2 separate regions of the Homo sapiens genome follow, and region 2 is linked to region 1. The links are contacts of gene promoters, found by promoter capture Hi-C in blood cells and fetal thymus (Javierre and others, 2016). All regions are on one chromosome and are shown on one strand. The core of a region is centred on a gene start or on the middle of the fragment in contact, and the rest is flanking DNA. Distances in the headings are between cores, read along the strand shown. Region 1 holds the start of CLN8 (CLN8 transmembrane ER and ERGIC protein). Region 2 overlaps ERICH1 (glutamate rich 1).

What was found. The method cuts DNA at HindIII sites, captures the fragments that hold promoters and counts their contacts. A CHiCAGO score of 5 or more calls a contact.
Region 2: a fragment that was not itself captured here is called in contact with the fragment with the promoter of CLN8 in region 1 in 1 of 17 cell types (monocytes); the score reaches 5.2 in monocytes.

Annotation. Positions count from the first base shown.
Region 1 is chr8:1,762,064-1,767,068 of GRCh38, forward strand. It overlaps CLN8 (CLN8 transmembrane ER and ERGIC protein), which reads left to right and starts at 1,726. Exons shown (of 3, transcript NM_018941.4): 1 at 1,726-1,822. It overlaps CLN8-AS1 (CLN8 antisense RNA 1), which reads right to left and starts at 2,521. Exons shown (of 2, transcript NR_134303.1): 1 at 2,371-2,521; 2 at 1-865. The HindIII fragment of the contact is 15,536 bases long and covers 1-4,132 here.
Region 2 is chr8:675,193-680,197 of GRCh38, forward strand. All of the region lies in intron 3 of ERICH1 (glutamate rich 1), which reads right to left. Among named protein-coding and RNA genes, the nearest start is that of ERICH1, 54 kb to the right of the region's middle. The HindIII fragment of the contact is 2,190 bases long and covers 1,583-3,772 here.

The sequences.
Region 1 (5,005 bases), core at 476-2,975:
GAATGAACAAGGACAGTTTGGAGGTTAAAAGTAGGATGGAGTTGGTTAGGTCAGATCTCTCACTGTCTCAGTTATAATTTTGCAATGGTGGTTTCACTGGTTTTAAGATGGAGTTTATTTTATTTTATTTTTATTTTTTTGAGACAGAGTTTCATTCTTGTTGCCCAGGCTAGAGTGCCATGGCGTGATCTCAGCTCACTGCAACCTCTGCCTCCTGGGTTCAAGCAATTCTGCTTCAGCCTCCTGAGTAGCTGAGATTACAGGTGCCCACCACCACACCCGGCTAATTTTTTTCTCCCAAACTGCTGGGATTACAGGCTTGAGCCACCGCGCCCGCCAAGATGGGTTGTTGATTTTAAAACGATGTCACCCTGGCTCTCCTAGGTTCCTGTTCCCCTAACATCATGAAGGCTGCTGGCAGTTCTCTGGCCTCCAGGGAGGCCTCCACACACATTTACCCATGTTCTTAGACAATCCTAGGGACTCAAGGCTTCAACAAACCTAAATGAGCCAGCAGAAAAATAAACTTGAACATGAATGTCAACGTTTTCCCACATGTACTAAAGGGTTATAATAATTTTGAAATGTTTATTTCAAAGAGCGTTGGTAATTTAAACGTCCTATTTAATCCCCAAAACAGTCCTGAGGGGGAGATAAGGCAGTTATCTTCATAGTACAGGAAAGGAAAAAAGCGAGGGTCCAAGGCCGACTATACCCTCAGCTCCATTAGCCCCCGAGGCCTCCCTGACAGGCGGGGCGGACAATCCCAGTGCAGATGCTCTGTATCGATCGCATGCTATCGGTTCTTTCAAGGAACGTGTATTGATCATCAATTAAGTGGTGAGTACTCCTCTAGATGTCGATTCTAAAGAGGGAACAAAACACATTAGACAGAAGAAACATAAGTAACTCGAATAACAACCTTAGAGAGAAGAAACATAAGTAACTCGAATAACAACCTTAGCAAACTGCGGAAACTCCTACAGACAAAAACTCAGGTGTGGGCGCAGAAGGGCCGGGGATGCGCTCGGTCAAGACTTGAAGGTCCGGGGCTTGGGCCCTGTGTCCTCACCGAGCCCCGGGGAGGCTCCGGCTCCGTCCACACCCGGAGCGCGACTCAGCCGCGGCCGGGGCTCTTCTGGAGAACGGCGCGGTCAGGCTCTGCCGCAGCTTTCAGGTCCCCTCGGCCCCGTCCGGGTGCAGCGCAACCAGGCTGCCCGCGGAGCCCCACCGCCCCCATGCCGCCGCCCGCCATGGTTCAGCCCGGCCCCGCCCCTCCCGCCGGCCGTGGTTCAGCGCGTCCACCCCGCCGCCCCACAGCGCCCGCCGCGCCGCGCCCCGCCCCCCGCCGCGCCCCGCCCCCCGCCGCGCCCCGCCCCCCGCCGCGCCCCGCCCCCCGCCGCGCCCCGCCCCCCGCCGCGCCCCGCCCCCCGCCGCGCCCCGCCCCCCGCCGCGCCCCGCCCCCCGCCGCGCCCCGCCCCCCGCCGCGCCCCGCCCCCCGCCGCGCCCCGCCCCCCGCCGCGCCCCGCCCCCCGCCGCGCCCCGCCCCCCGCGCCGCGCCCCGCCCCCCGCCGCGCCCCTCCCGCGCCCGCCGCCCCGCCCCTCCCGCGCCCGCCGCCGTCGTAGCGCCTAGGCGGGGCCTCTCGTAGCGACGCCCCCAGGGGGGCAGAACGCGTGCGCACGCGCGTGCGAACGCGCGTGCGCGGGCGGTGTTTGAGGCCGGCCAGTCGTGACTGGGCGGCAATGAGGTCAGTGACTGCCGGGAGTCCTGCAGGGGCGGGGCGGCGCCAAGCGCAGGGAGCCCGGCTGAGTGGCAGCCCAGGTGAGCGCTCAGGGAGCCCGGGTGAGGGCCGGGAACCCAGGTGAGGGGCAGCCCAGGTGAGCGCGCGGGGTGCCCGGGTTAGGGGCCGGGAACCCAGGTGAGGGGCAGCCCAGGTGAGCGCGCGTGGAGCCCAGGCGAGGGGGCTGGGAAGCCCGGGTGAGGGGACCGGGGATCCCAGGTGAGGGGCCGGGAACTCAGCTGAGGGGGAACCCAGATGGGCGCGCGGGAGCCCACGTGAGGGGGAGCCCGGGTGAGGGGCCGGGGTGGCTCCTGGCGTCCGCGGTCCCAGCCCTGCCTTCCGGTGGGCGTGCGGCACCCCGGGCCGTGCGGTTCCCGGACAGCAGCTTGTGGGGGACTTTCGAGCCCCGCAGCCCGGGGTCCTGCCTGCGCGGGTTGGGCGTGGGGGGCTCCTCACCGCGACGCTGACTTTGGAGTCCTTGAGCGGCGCGGATGCCGGACGGAGGGAGGGGACAGGCGGAGGCGGAGGCGGCGCCGTCGCCCCTGACCTCGCTTCCCTCAGACCGGCTGGGCAAGTACGGTCAGCTCACCTGTGTGCCCACGAGGCGGGGAGGCGGCTCCTGCAGAGCCACAGAGGTGCCGTCGGAGCTGCTGTCAAGGACAGCAGGTGTCACGTGGGTGTGGCCTCCACTGGTCACCGAGTTAGCTGGGGCGGAAGGGGACAAGGTGCAGCTCAACATGGTGTGGGAGGCGGAGGGACGCTGGGTCAGTCAGAACCTGTAGGAGCGGGGAGGGACGCTGGGTAAGGTCACCAAAGTGTGCGGGGGAGAGAGCGGGCGCTGGGTCAGGTCAGCAGGAGGTGGGACCCGCCTGGGCTCTGGGCCCTATAGCCAGCTGCTCTAGGTTGGGGTTGGGTGTGGACAGTAGGGAGGGGAGCCAGGGGCTCCCCAGCCTGTGTAGATTCTGCTGTAAGTGACTCTTCTCTGAAAGACTGGCGCGAGGCGGCTGCTTCTGACTCCTGTTTCAGTTTACCCTCTGTGTGAAATCTGTAACTATCCAGCTTCTGCTTACCTCACTCCCGTATTTTGATTTTTATTTACATACAACTTTTCAGGAAGGTTGTGAGAGGAAAGAGCAATGGTGCAGGAAGTGTGAGTGATTGAGGGAATATGAGATGGCCACAGCTCCCCACTGAGCTTGAACACTTCTGTGCCTCACTTTCAGATTGGCCGTCATGGAGGCTGTGGTTGTTAAGGAAGTTCTTCCTGAGCATCCAGTTTCCATACAAAGAGCACAGGTTCTCTAGGTGGCCTCAGAGATGTTCAATACACAATGTCTTCTGATAACGAGGAACTGGGCAAAAGCCTGGTAGGACACCGGGTAGGTAAATGGTGGAGTCCCTGCAACCGTGTTGCAGAGGAGGATTAGCTGTTGCTGAGAGAAGAGAAGCAGGCCGGGGAGCAGCTTGTATACTGTTATCCCCTTTTATGTAAAAAGAAGAGTTTATATCTAGAAAAACAATTGACCCAGCAGGCACCAAAAAATAGTGATGGTGCTTGGAGCTGTGTAAGAGGATTGTAAATTTTTATTTTTGTATTTTTATGCTTGTTTATATTTTCTGAATTTTGTGTATTAAACATGTATTTCTGTTGATTTTGGAAAACATTTTTACAACCCATCAATGTATAATTTTCAAAATGTTAGAAGTATAATTCTCATGTAAATAGCTCTTGTCAGGTTATATTTCAGTCATTAATGCAGTATACAGCAGGATAGGAATGTCAGTTCAAAAGAGAATACACAAAACTAGGATTTTCTTAGTGAGTGGGTAACAGGAATGCTGAGAGAAGATTGCCAGATTAGATAATAAGATTGGTGAATATCCTGTGTGCATTGAAACCACAGCCTTTGGGATTGTCTTTTCTTCTTGATGGAAAGGAGAATTAGCTTTGCAGATTGTAAAATGCGTGACCCACAATCAGTGGTAAATAGTTTAGTTATTTCTCCTAGAAAGTCAAGTGATTGTTGGGGTTGTAAAACACTGAACTTGCGTTAGCAGGGAAAAAAGCATGCAACCTTTTTTTTCCCTTTTGACGTCACTTCCAAGTTTGGATAAATTATCTCAATGAAAAACAAAAATGCTGGTATCCATAGCAGTTTAGCCCCCATAAACCGGAGGAGCGCATAGATGCATGACAGAGTCGAAGGGTTCCAGTGGCCACTGAGCCTGGTTCCTGGTCACACTGCAGCAACAGAGCTAACACTCTTACTGATGTGTTTGCATTCAGATTTTTAAAAAACTTCATGGCCCAGTGCAATAGAAGAGCTGAAACCACAGAATCTTATAAGACAAGCTTTTTGTATACATTTTCTCCAAAGAAAATGAAGATCTGCAGCGTCAAGAGATGGTGGCCTTCCAGGAGTTGTTTATTCTCCGGCTCCACTTCCTCTACTGCAGAGAGGAAAGGGGCTGGTGTGGAAGGGCTTGGAAGCCTTCCAGAATGAAAGAACCAGATGAGTCCATTAGGTTCGGCCTCCAGTTTTTTGTTTTTTTTTTTTTTTTTGAGACGGAGCCTCACTCTGTCACCCAGGCTGGAGTGCAGTGGCGCTATCTCAGCTCACTGCACGTTCCGCCTTCCAGGTTCCCGCCATTCTCCTGCCTCAGCCTCCCGAGTAGCTGGGACTACAGGCGCTCGCCATCACGCCTGGCTATTTTTTTTTTGTATTTTAGTAGAGACAAGGTTTCACCATGTTAGCCAGGATGGTCTCGATCTCCTGACCTCGTGATCCTCCCACCTTGGGCTCCCAAAGTGCTGGGATTACAGGTGTGAGCCACCCTGCCCGGCCGATTCGGCCTCCAGTTTTACCCATGGAAGGAACAGTGACTTCCAGCTGTGCATTACACTTAAGGACTCCTTCATGTGGCCTGAGCCTTATGGTGCACAGCAAGGGAACAGTGGGAACCCCTGTGTCCCATTTTGCGTATCAAGAGTGAGAGGGTGTGGTTGGGTCAAGGAGCAGAAATAGAAGCAAAAGGAGAAGCTGAGCTCTTCCCATACCCCTTCTGTGCTGCCTGACAGAACAAGGCCTAGCCACACTTCTGTGGGTGCCCACCTTGTGACTTGGGGTGAACCACAGCTGTTCTCAGTACAACGCTGATGCCACGAAAGGACAGCAGAGCTCTGCAGGACTCCAGGAAGACTGGGCGCTTGGGCTGGATCCTGC
Region 2 (5,005 bases), core at 1,428-3,927, 1.1 Mb before region 1:
GAGACGCGGCGCCCCCTCGTGAGGACAGAGACGCGGCGGCCCCTCGGCGAGGACAGAGACGCGGCGGCCCCTCGTGAGGACAGAGACGCGGCGGCCCCTCGGCGAGGACAGAGACGCGGCGGCCCCTCGTGAGGACAGAGACGCGGCGCCCCCTCGGCGAGGACAGAGACGCGGCGGCCCCTCGTGAGGACAGAGACGCGGCGCCCCCTCGGCGAGGACAGAGACGCGGCGGCCCCTCGGCGAGGACAGAGACGCGGCGGCCCCTCGTGAGGACAGAGACGCGGCGGCCCCTCGGCGAGGACAGAGACGCGGCGGCCCCTCGTGAGGACAGAGACGCGGCGGCCCCTCGGCGAGGACAGAGACGCGGCGGCCCCTCGTGAGGACAGAGACGCGGCGGCCCCTCGGCGAGGACAGAGACGCGGCGGCCCCTCGTGAGGACAGAGACGCGGCGCCCCCTCGGCGAGGACAGAGACGCGGCGGCCCCTCGTGAGGACAGAGACGCGGCGGCCCCTCGTGAGGACAGAGGCGCGGCGGCCCCTCGTGAGGACAGAGACGCGGCGGCCCCTCGTGAGGACAGAGACGCGGCGGCCCCTCGGCGAGGACAGAGACGCGGCGCCCCCTCGGCGAGGACAGAGACGCGGCGGCCCCTCGTGAGGACAGAGGCGCGGCGGCCCCTCGTGAGGACAGAGACGCGGCGCCCCCTCGGCGAGGACAGAGACGCGGCGGCCCCTCGTGAGGACAGAGGCGCGGCGGCCCCTCGTGAGGACAGAGGCGCGGCGGCCCCTCGTGAGGACAGAGACGCGGCGCCCCCCCGGCGAGGACAGAGACGCGGCGGCCCCTCGTGAGGACAGAGACGCGGCGGCCCCTCGTGAGGACAGAGACGCGGCGGCCCCTCGTGAGGACAGAGACGCGGCGGCCCCTCGTGAGGACAGAGACGCGGCGCCCCCTCGGCGAGGACAGAGACGCGGCGCCCCCTCGGCGAGGACAGAGACGCGGCGGCCCCTCGGCGAGGACAGAGACGCGGCGGCCCCTCGGCGAGGACAGAGGCGCGGCGGCCCCTCGTGAGGACAGAGACGCGGCGGCCCCTCGTGAGGACAGAGACGCGGCGCCCCCTCGGCGAGGACAGAGACGCGGCGGCCCCTCGGCGAGGACAGAGACGCGGCGGCCCCTCGTGAGGACAGAGACGCGGCGGCCCCTCGTGAGGACAGAGACGCGGCGCCCCCTCGGCGAGGACAGAGACGCGGCGGCCCCTCGGCGAGGACAGAGACGCGGCGGCCCCTCGGCGAGGACAGAGACGCGGCGGCCCCTCGTGAGGACAGAGGCGCGGCGGCCCCTCGTGAGGACAGAGGCACACTACCCGTGCTGCTGCTCCCTGACAGAAGGGTATCAGATAAGTAACTGGCGCCATGCGGGGGGAACAGAGGGTGTGTGCAGGCCAAGAACAGACGGCACATGGCGCACACGCCCCGCCCCACACCCAAGCCCCGCCCAGACACTGATGGGTAAAGTCTATACCACGGGCGTCTGTGCCACGGCCGGCACACGGCTCCCGGGTGTTGCCCGAGCAGACCTAGAACTATAAAGCTTGCCGCTGCACCACGCCAAGGGCGGGGGTTCAGACAGTTCTCATTTTAGGAAGCGCCTGTTGGAGTTTTCTGAGCTGTGCACCCCATCACAGATTGTGAAGAATCAAGATGAAACAACGTGAGTGAAGTTTGTGAGACACTGTAAGGGCAGATTCCCTATCATTTCCACTCAAGCGCTTTCCCTTCACCTCTGAAATGAGATAGAATACATGAGTTCCTCTTCCACAATGAAGCTCTTCAAAGCGGTTTCCTATTCTCCTCTGTCTCAACAGCCTCAAGCACACCGCCCTCAAAGCCCAGGGCCTGCCCGCATGCTGGACAGGAACCCTGCAGAGGGTGAGCTCCGGGCTCTTCGCCAGCTGCGGACACCGCAAGCTGTGACGCAGTCCCACCCCATGACTCGATAAAGCAGTCGCATCGGTTTCTCTCACCCTGAAAATACAGGAAGTATTTTACCAAGCACCAGCCTCCCCTCTTCATTGGATGTAGACACCCCCCAGCTCTGTTCACGGTCAAACTGAACGCCGCTGTGGAACTGTGAGATGACATTGCTGCCGCTTTGTGGAAGAGAGTTCCCACCGTGTCTTGTTGTGATTGGTATCCGTTCTGCACAGCCTCCACCACCACAGCGTGGCACAGGCTGAAGCAGCTCCGCACACAGTCCCAAGATGAAGCCGCCAAGCCTGAGTCTCCTCGACACCTTCATCTCGCTCCTCACTCACCAGTGGGTGTTTGAATAATTTCATCTGCGAGTGTGTGTTGTTGCTTTTGGGGTCCACTGCGCAGGTCTGACCAACCAGCCTGGTCCAGACGTCTTTGAACAGCAGCCTCTGGGTCTGCCCTGAACACACTGATGTTTAAAACCAACCACGTCTAGGCAATCCATTTTAATTTCCCAGGTTCTGTTAAAAAAAGATGAAATTAAGCCTCTCCTCTTAGGTGTCTATTAAAAAATGTGACTGCCTTCATGAATTTGGAGATAAGTAACACATCGAGTGTTTTCCCACCCACAGGAAGCCCCTCTAGGATGCGACAGGTCACGGGGGCGACCCTCATCACCCAGCAAGAACACTGCGGAATGCTGCTCATCACCCCCCAGGCTCCTCCCGGCACGTCCTTCTCTGCCAGCTCTGTCAGTGCCGCTCATCGCCAGTGTCGTACCCCGGGGTCAGCTTCCCCTCCTAAGACTACAAGACAAACAAATGGTTGCCCTGTTGAGATCGACTGCGCTATTGATCTATTTTTATAAGACTATAAAACAGTAATTTAAAAAGGTGAAGGAGGCAAAAAGGCCATAAAATGTTAAGTTTGTCATATTTTTTTCACATAAATGTGTATGCGTGTACTTTTGAAAAGGAAAAGTTAATATACATTAAAAAAAAAAGAGACTGGACATCCTTTTCTCAGGATGCTCCCTGCAGTTACTCCTTGGGTGGTCTAAGTATAGGCTGCTTTTTTCCTCCCAATTTCTCTGATTTCCAAGTCTAGTTTAAGAGAGGAGGCTTGAAAATCCAGCATCGGGAACACGGAAGTGCCGATACGTCTTGTTGGTGTTAAGAAGGTAATGAAAGGATACTGCACACAACGACATGCAAATCAGTTAATCCGTTAGAAACAGATTCCTGAGAAAAGTACAATTTAGCCAATGGACACAGAAAGAAACAGAAAATCACAATATTCCTGCATCTGTCTTAAAAAATGAGTCTAGTTAAAAATAATCCCACAAAAGAACTTCAGGCTTAGATAGGTTCACCTGTGACTTTTACTAAACATTTAAAGAAAAAGTCTTGGGAGGCCGAGGCGGGCGGATCACGAGGTCAGGAGATTGAGACCATCCTGGCTAACACGGTGAAACCCAGTCTCTACTAAAAATACAAAAATTAGCCAGGCATGGTGGCAGGTGCCTGTAGTCCCAGCTACTCCGGAGGCTGAGGCAGAAGAATCGCTTGAACCTGGGAGGCGGAGCTTGCAGTGAGCCCAGATTGCACCACTGCACTCCAGCCTGGGTGACAGCGCGAGACTCCATCTCAAAAGAAAAGAAAAAGCCAACACATGTCTTACATACCCGTTTCCAGATAGCAGAAAAGATAATGACCCCTGACGACTCCAACGTCCCTCACGGCTCTGGGCCCTCATGGCTCTGACGACCGTCACAGCTCTGGCCTCTTATGATTCTGGCCCCTCAAAGCTTCAGCTCCGACCCCTCACAGCTTTGATCCCTCACAGCTCCTACTCACAGCAAGTGACCCCTTACAGCTCCCATCCCTCAGCAGTGACCTCTCACAGCTCCCACCCCTTACAGCAGTGACCCCTCACAGCTCCGACTCCTCACAGCTCCCACCTCTCACAGCTCTCACCCGTCAAAGCTCCGGCCCCTCACAGCTCCCACCCCTCACAGCACCCACCCCTCAAAGCTCCAGTCCCTCTCAGCAGTGACCCCTCACAGCTCCCAACTCACAGCTTCAGCTCCGACCCCTCACAGCTTTGATCCCTCACAGCTCCTACTGCTCACAGCAAGTGACCCCTCACGGCTTCCACCCCTCACAGCAGTGACCCCTCACAGCTCCCACCCCTCACAAAAGCTCTGGCCCCTCACAGCACCCACCCCTCACAGCTCCCACCCATCACAGCACCCAGCCCTCACAAAAGCTCTGGCCGTCACAGCTCCCACCCCTCACAGCACCCACCCCTCGCAGCTCTGTGAGGCCTCCAGCGTCTCCACTCCCCTGACAAGGGCATTGCAAGAAGGGAGGGCCACGGGCCCATCTCTCCCGTGGATGCTGCTACAAATATTCCATGCAAGATATTCACGAGATTCCAGTCATGTAAAGTGTATGATAAAATCTCAAATCAAACTGCCTCAAAGGAAGAAATCTAAATCGGATACCGGATACCTACAAGAACCCACAGGCAAGGTCATAAGTCATGTTGAAATGCTGAAAGCCTTTTCTCCAACAGGTCCTGTGACATCACTGTGGTCACCTCCACACTGGGGCTCCAGGCAGGGCACCAGGGAGACAACGTGTGCAAGAGCTGGAAGGGAAGAAACGCAGCTGCCACCCCTGTGAACACAGAAGATGCAAGAGAATCCACAGCTGCCACCCCTGTGAACACAGAAGATGCAAGAGAATCCACAGCTGCCACCCCTGTGAACACAGAAAGTCCAAGAGAATCCATAGCTGCCACCCCTGTGAACACAGAAGATGCAAGAGAATCCACAGCTGCCACCCCTGTGAACACAGAAGATGCAAGAGAATCCACAGCTGCCACCCCTGTGAACACAGAAGATGCAAGAGAATCCACAGCTGCCACCCCTGTGAACACAGAAAGTCCAAGAGAATCCATAGCTGCCACCCCTGTGAACACAGAAGATGCAAGAGAATCCACAGCTGCCACCCCTGTGAACACAGAAGATGCAA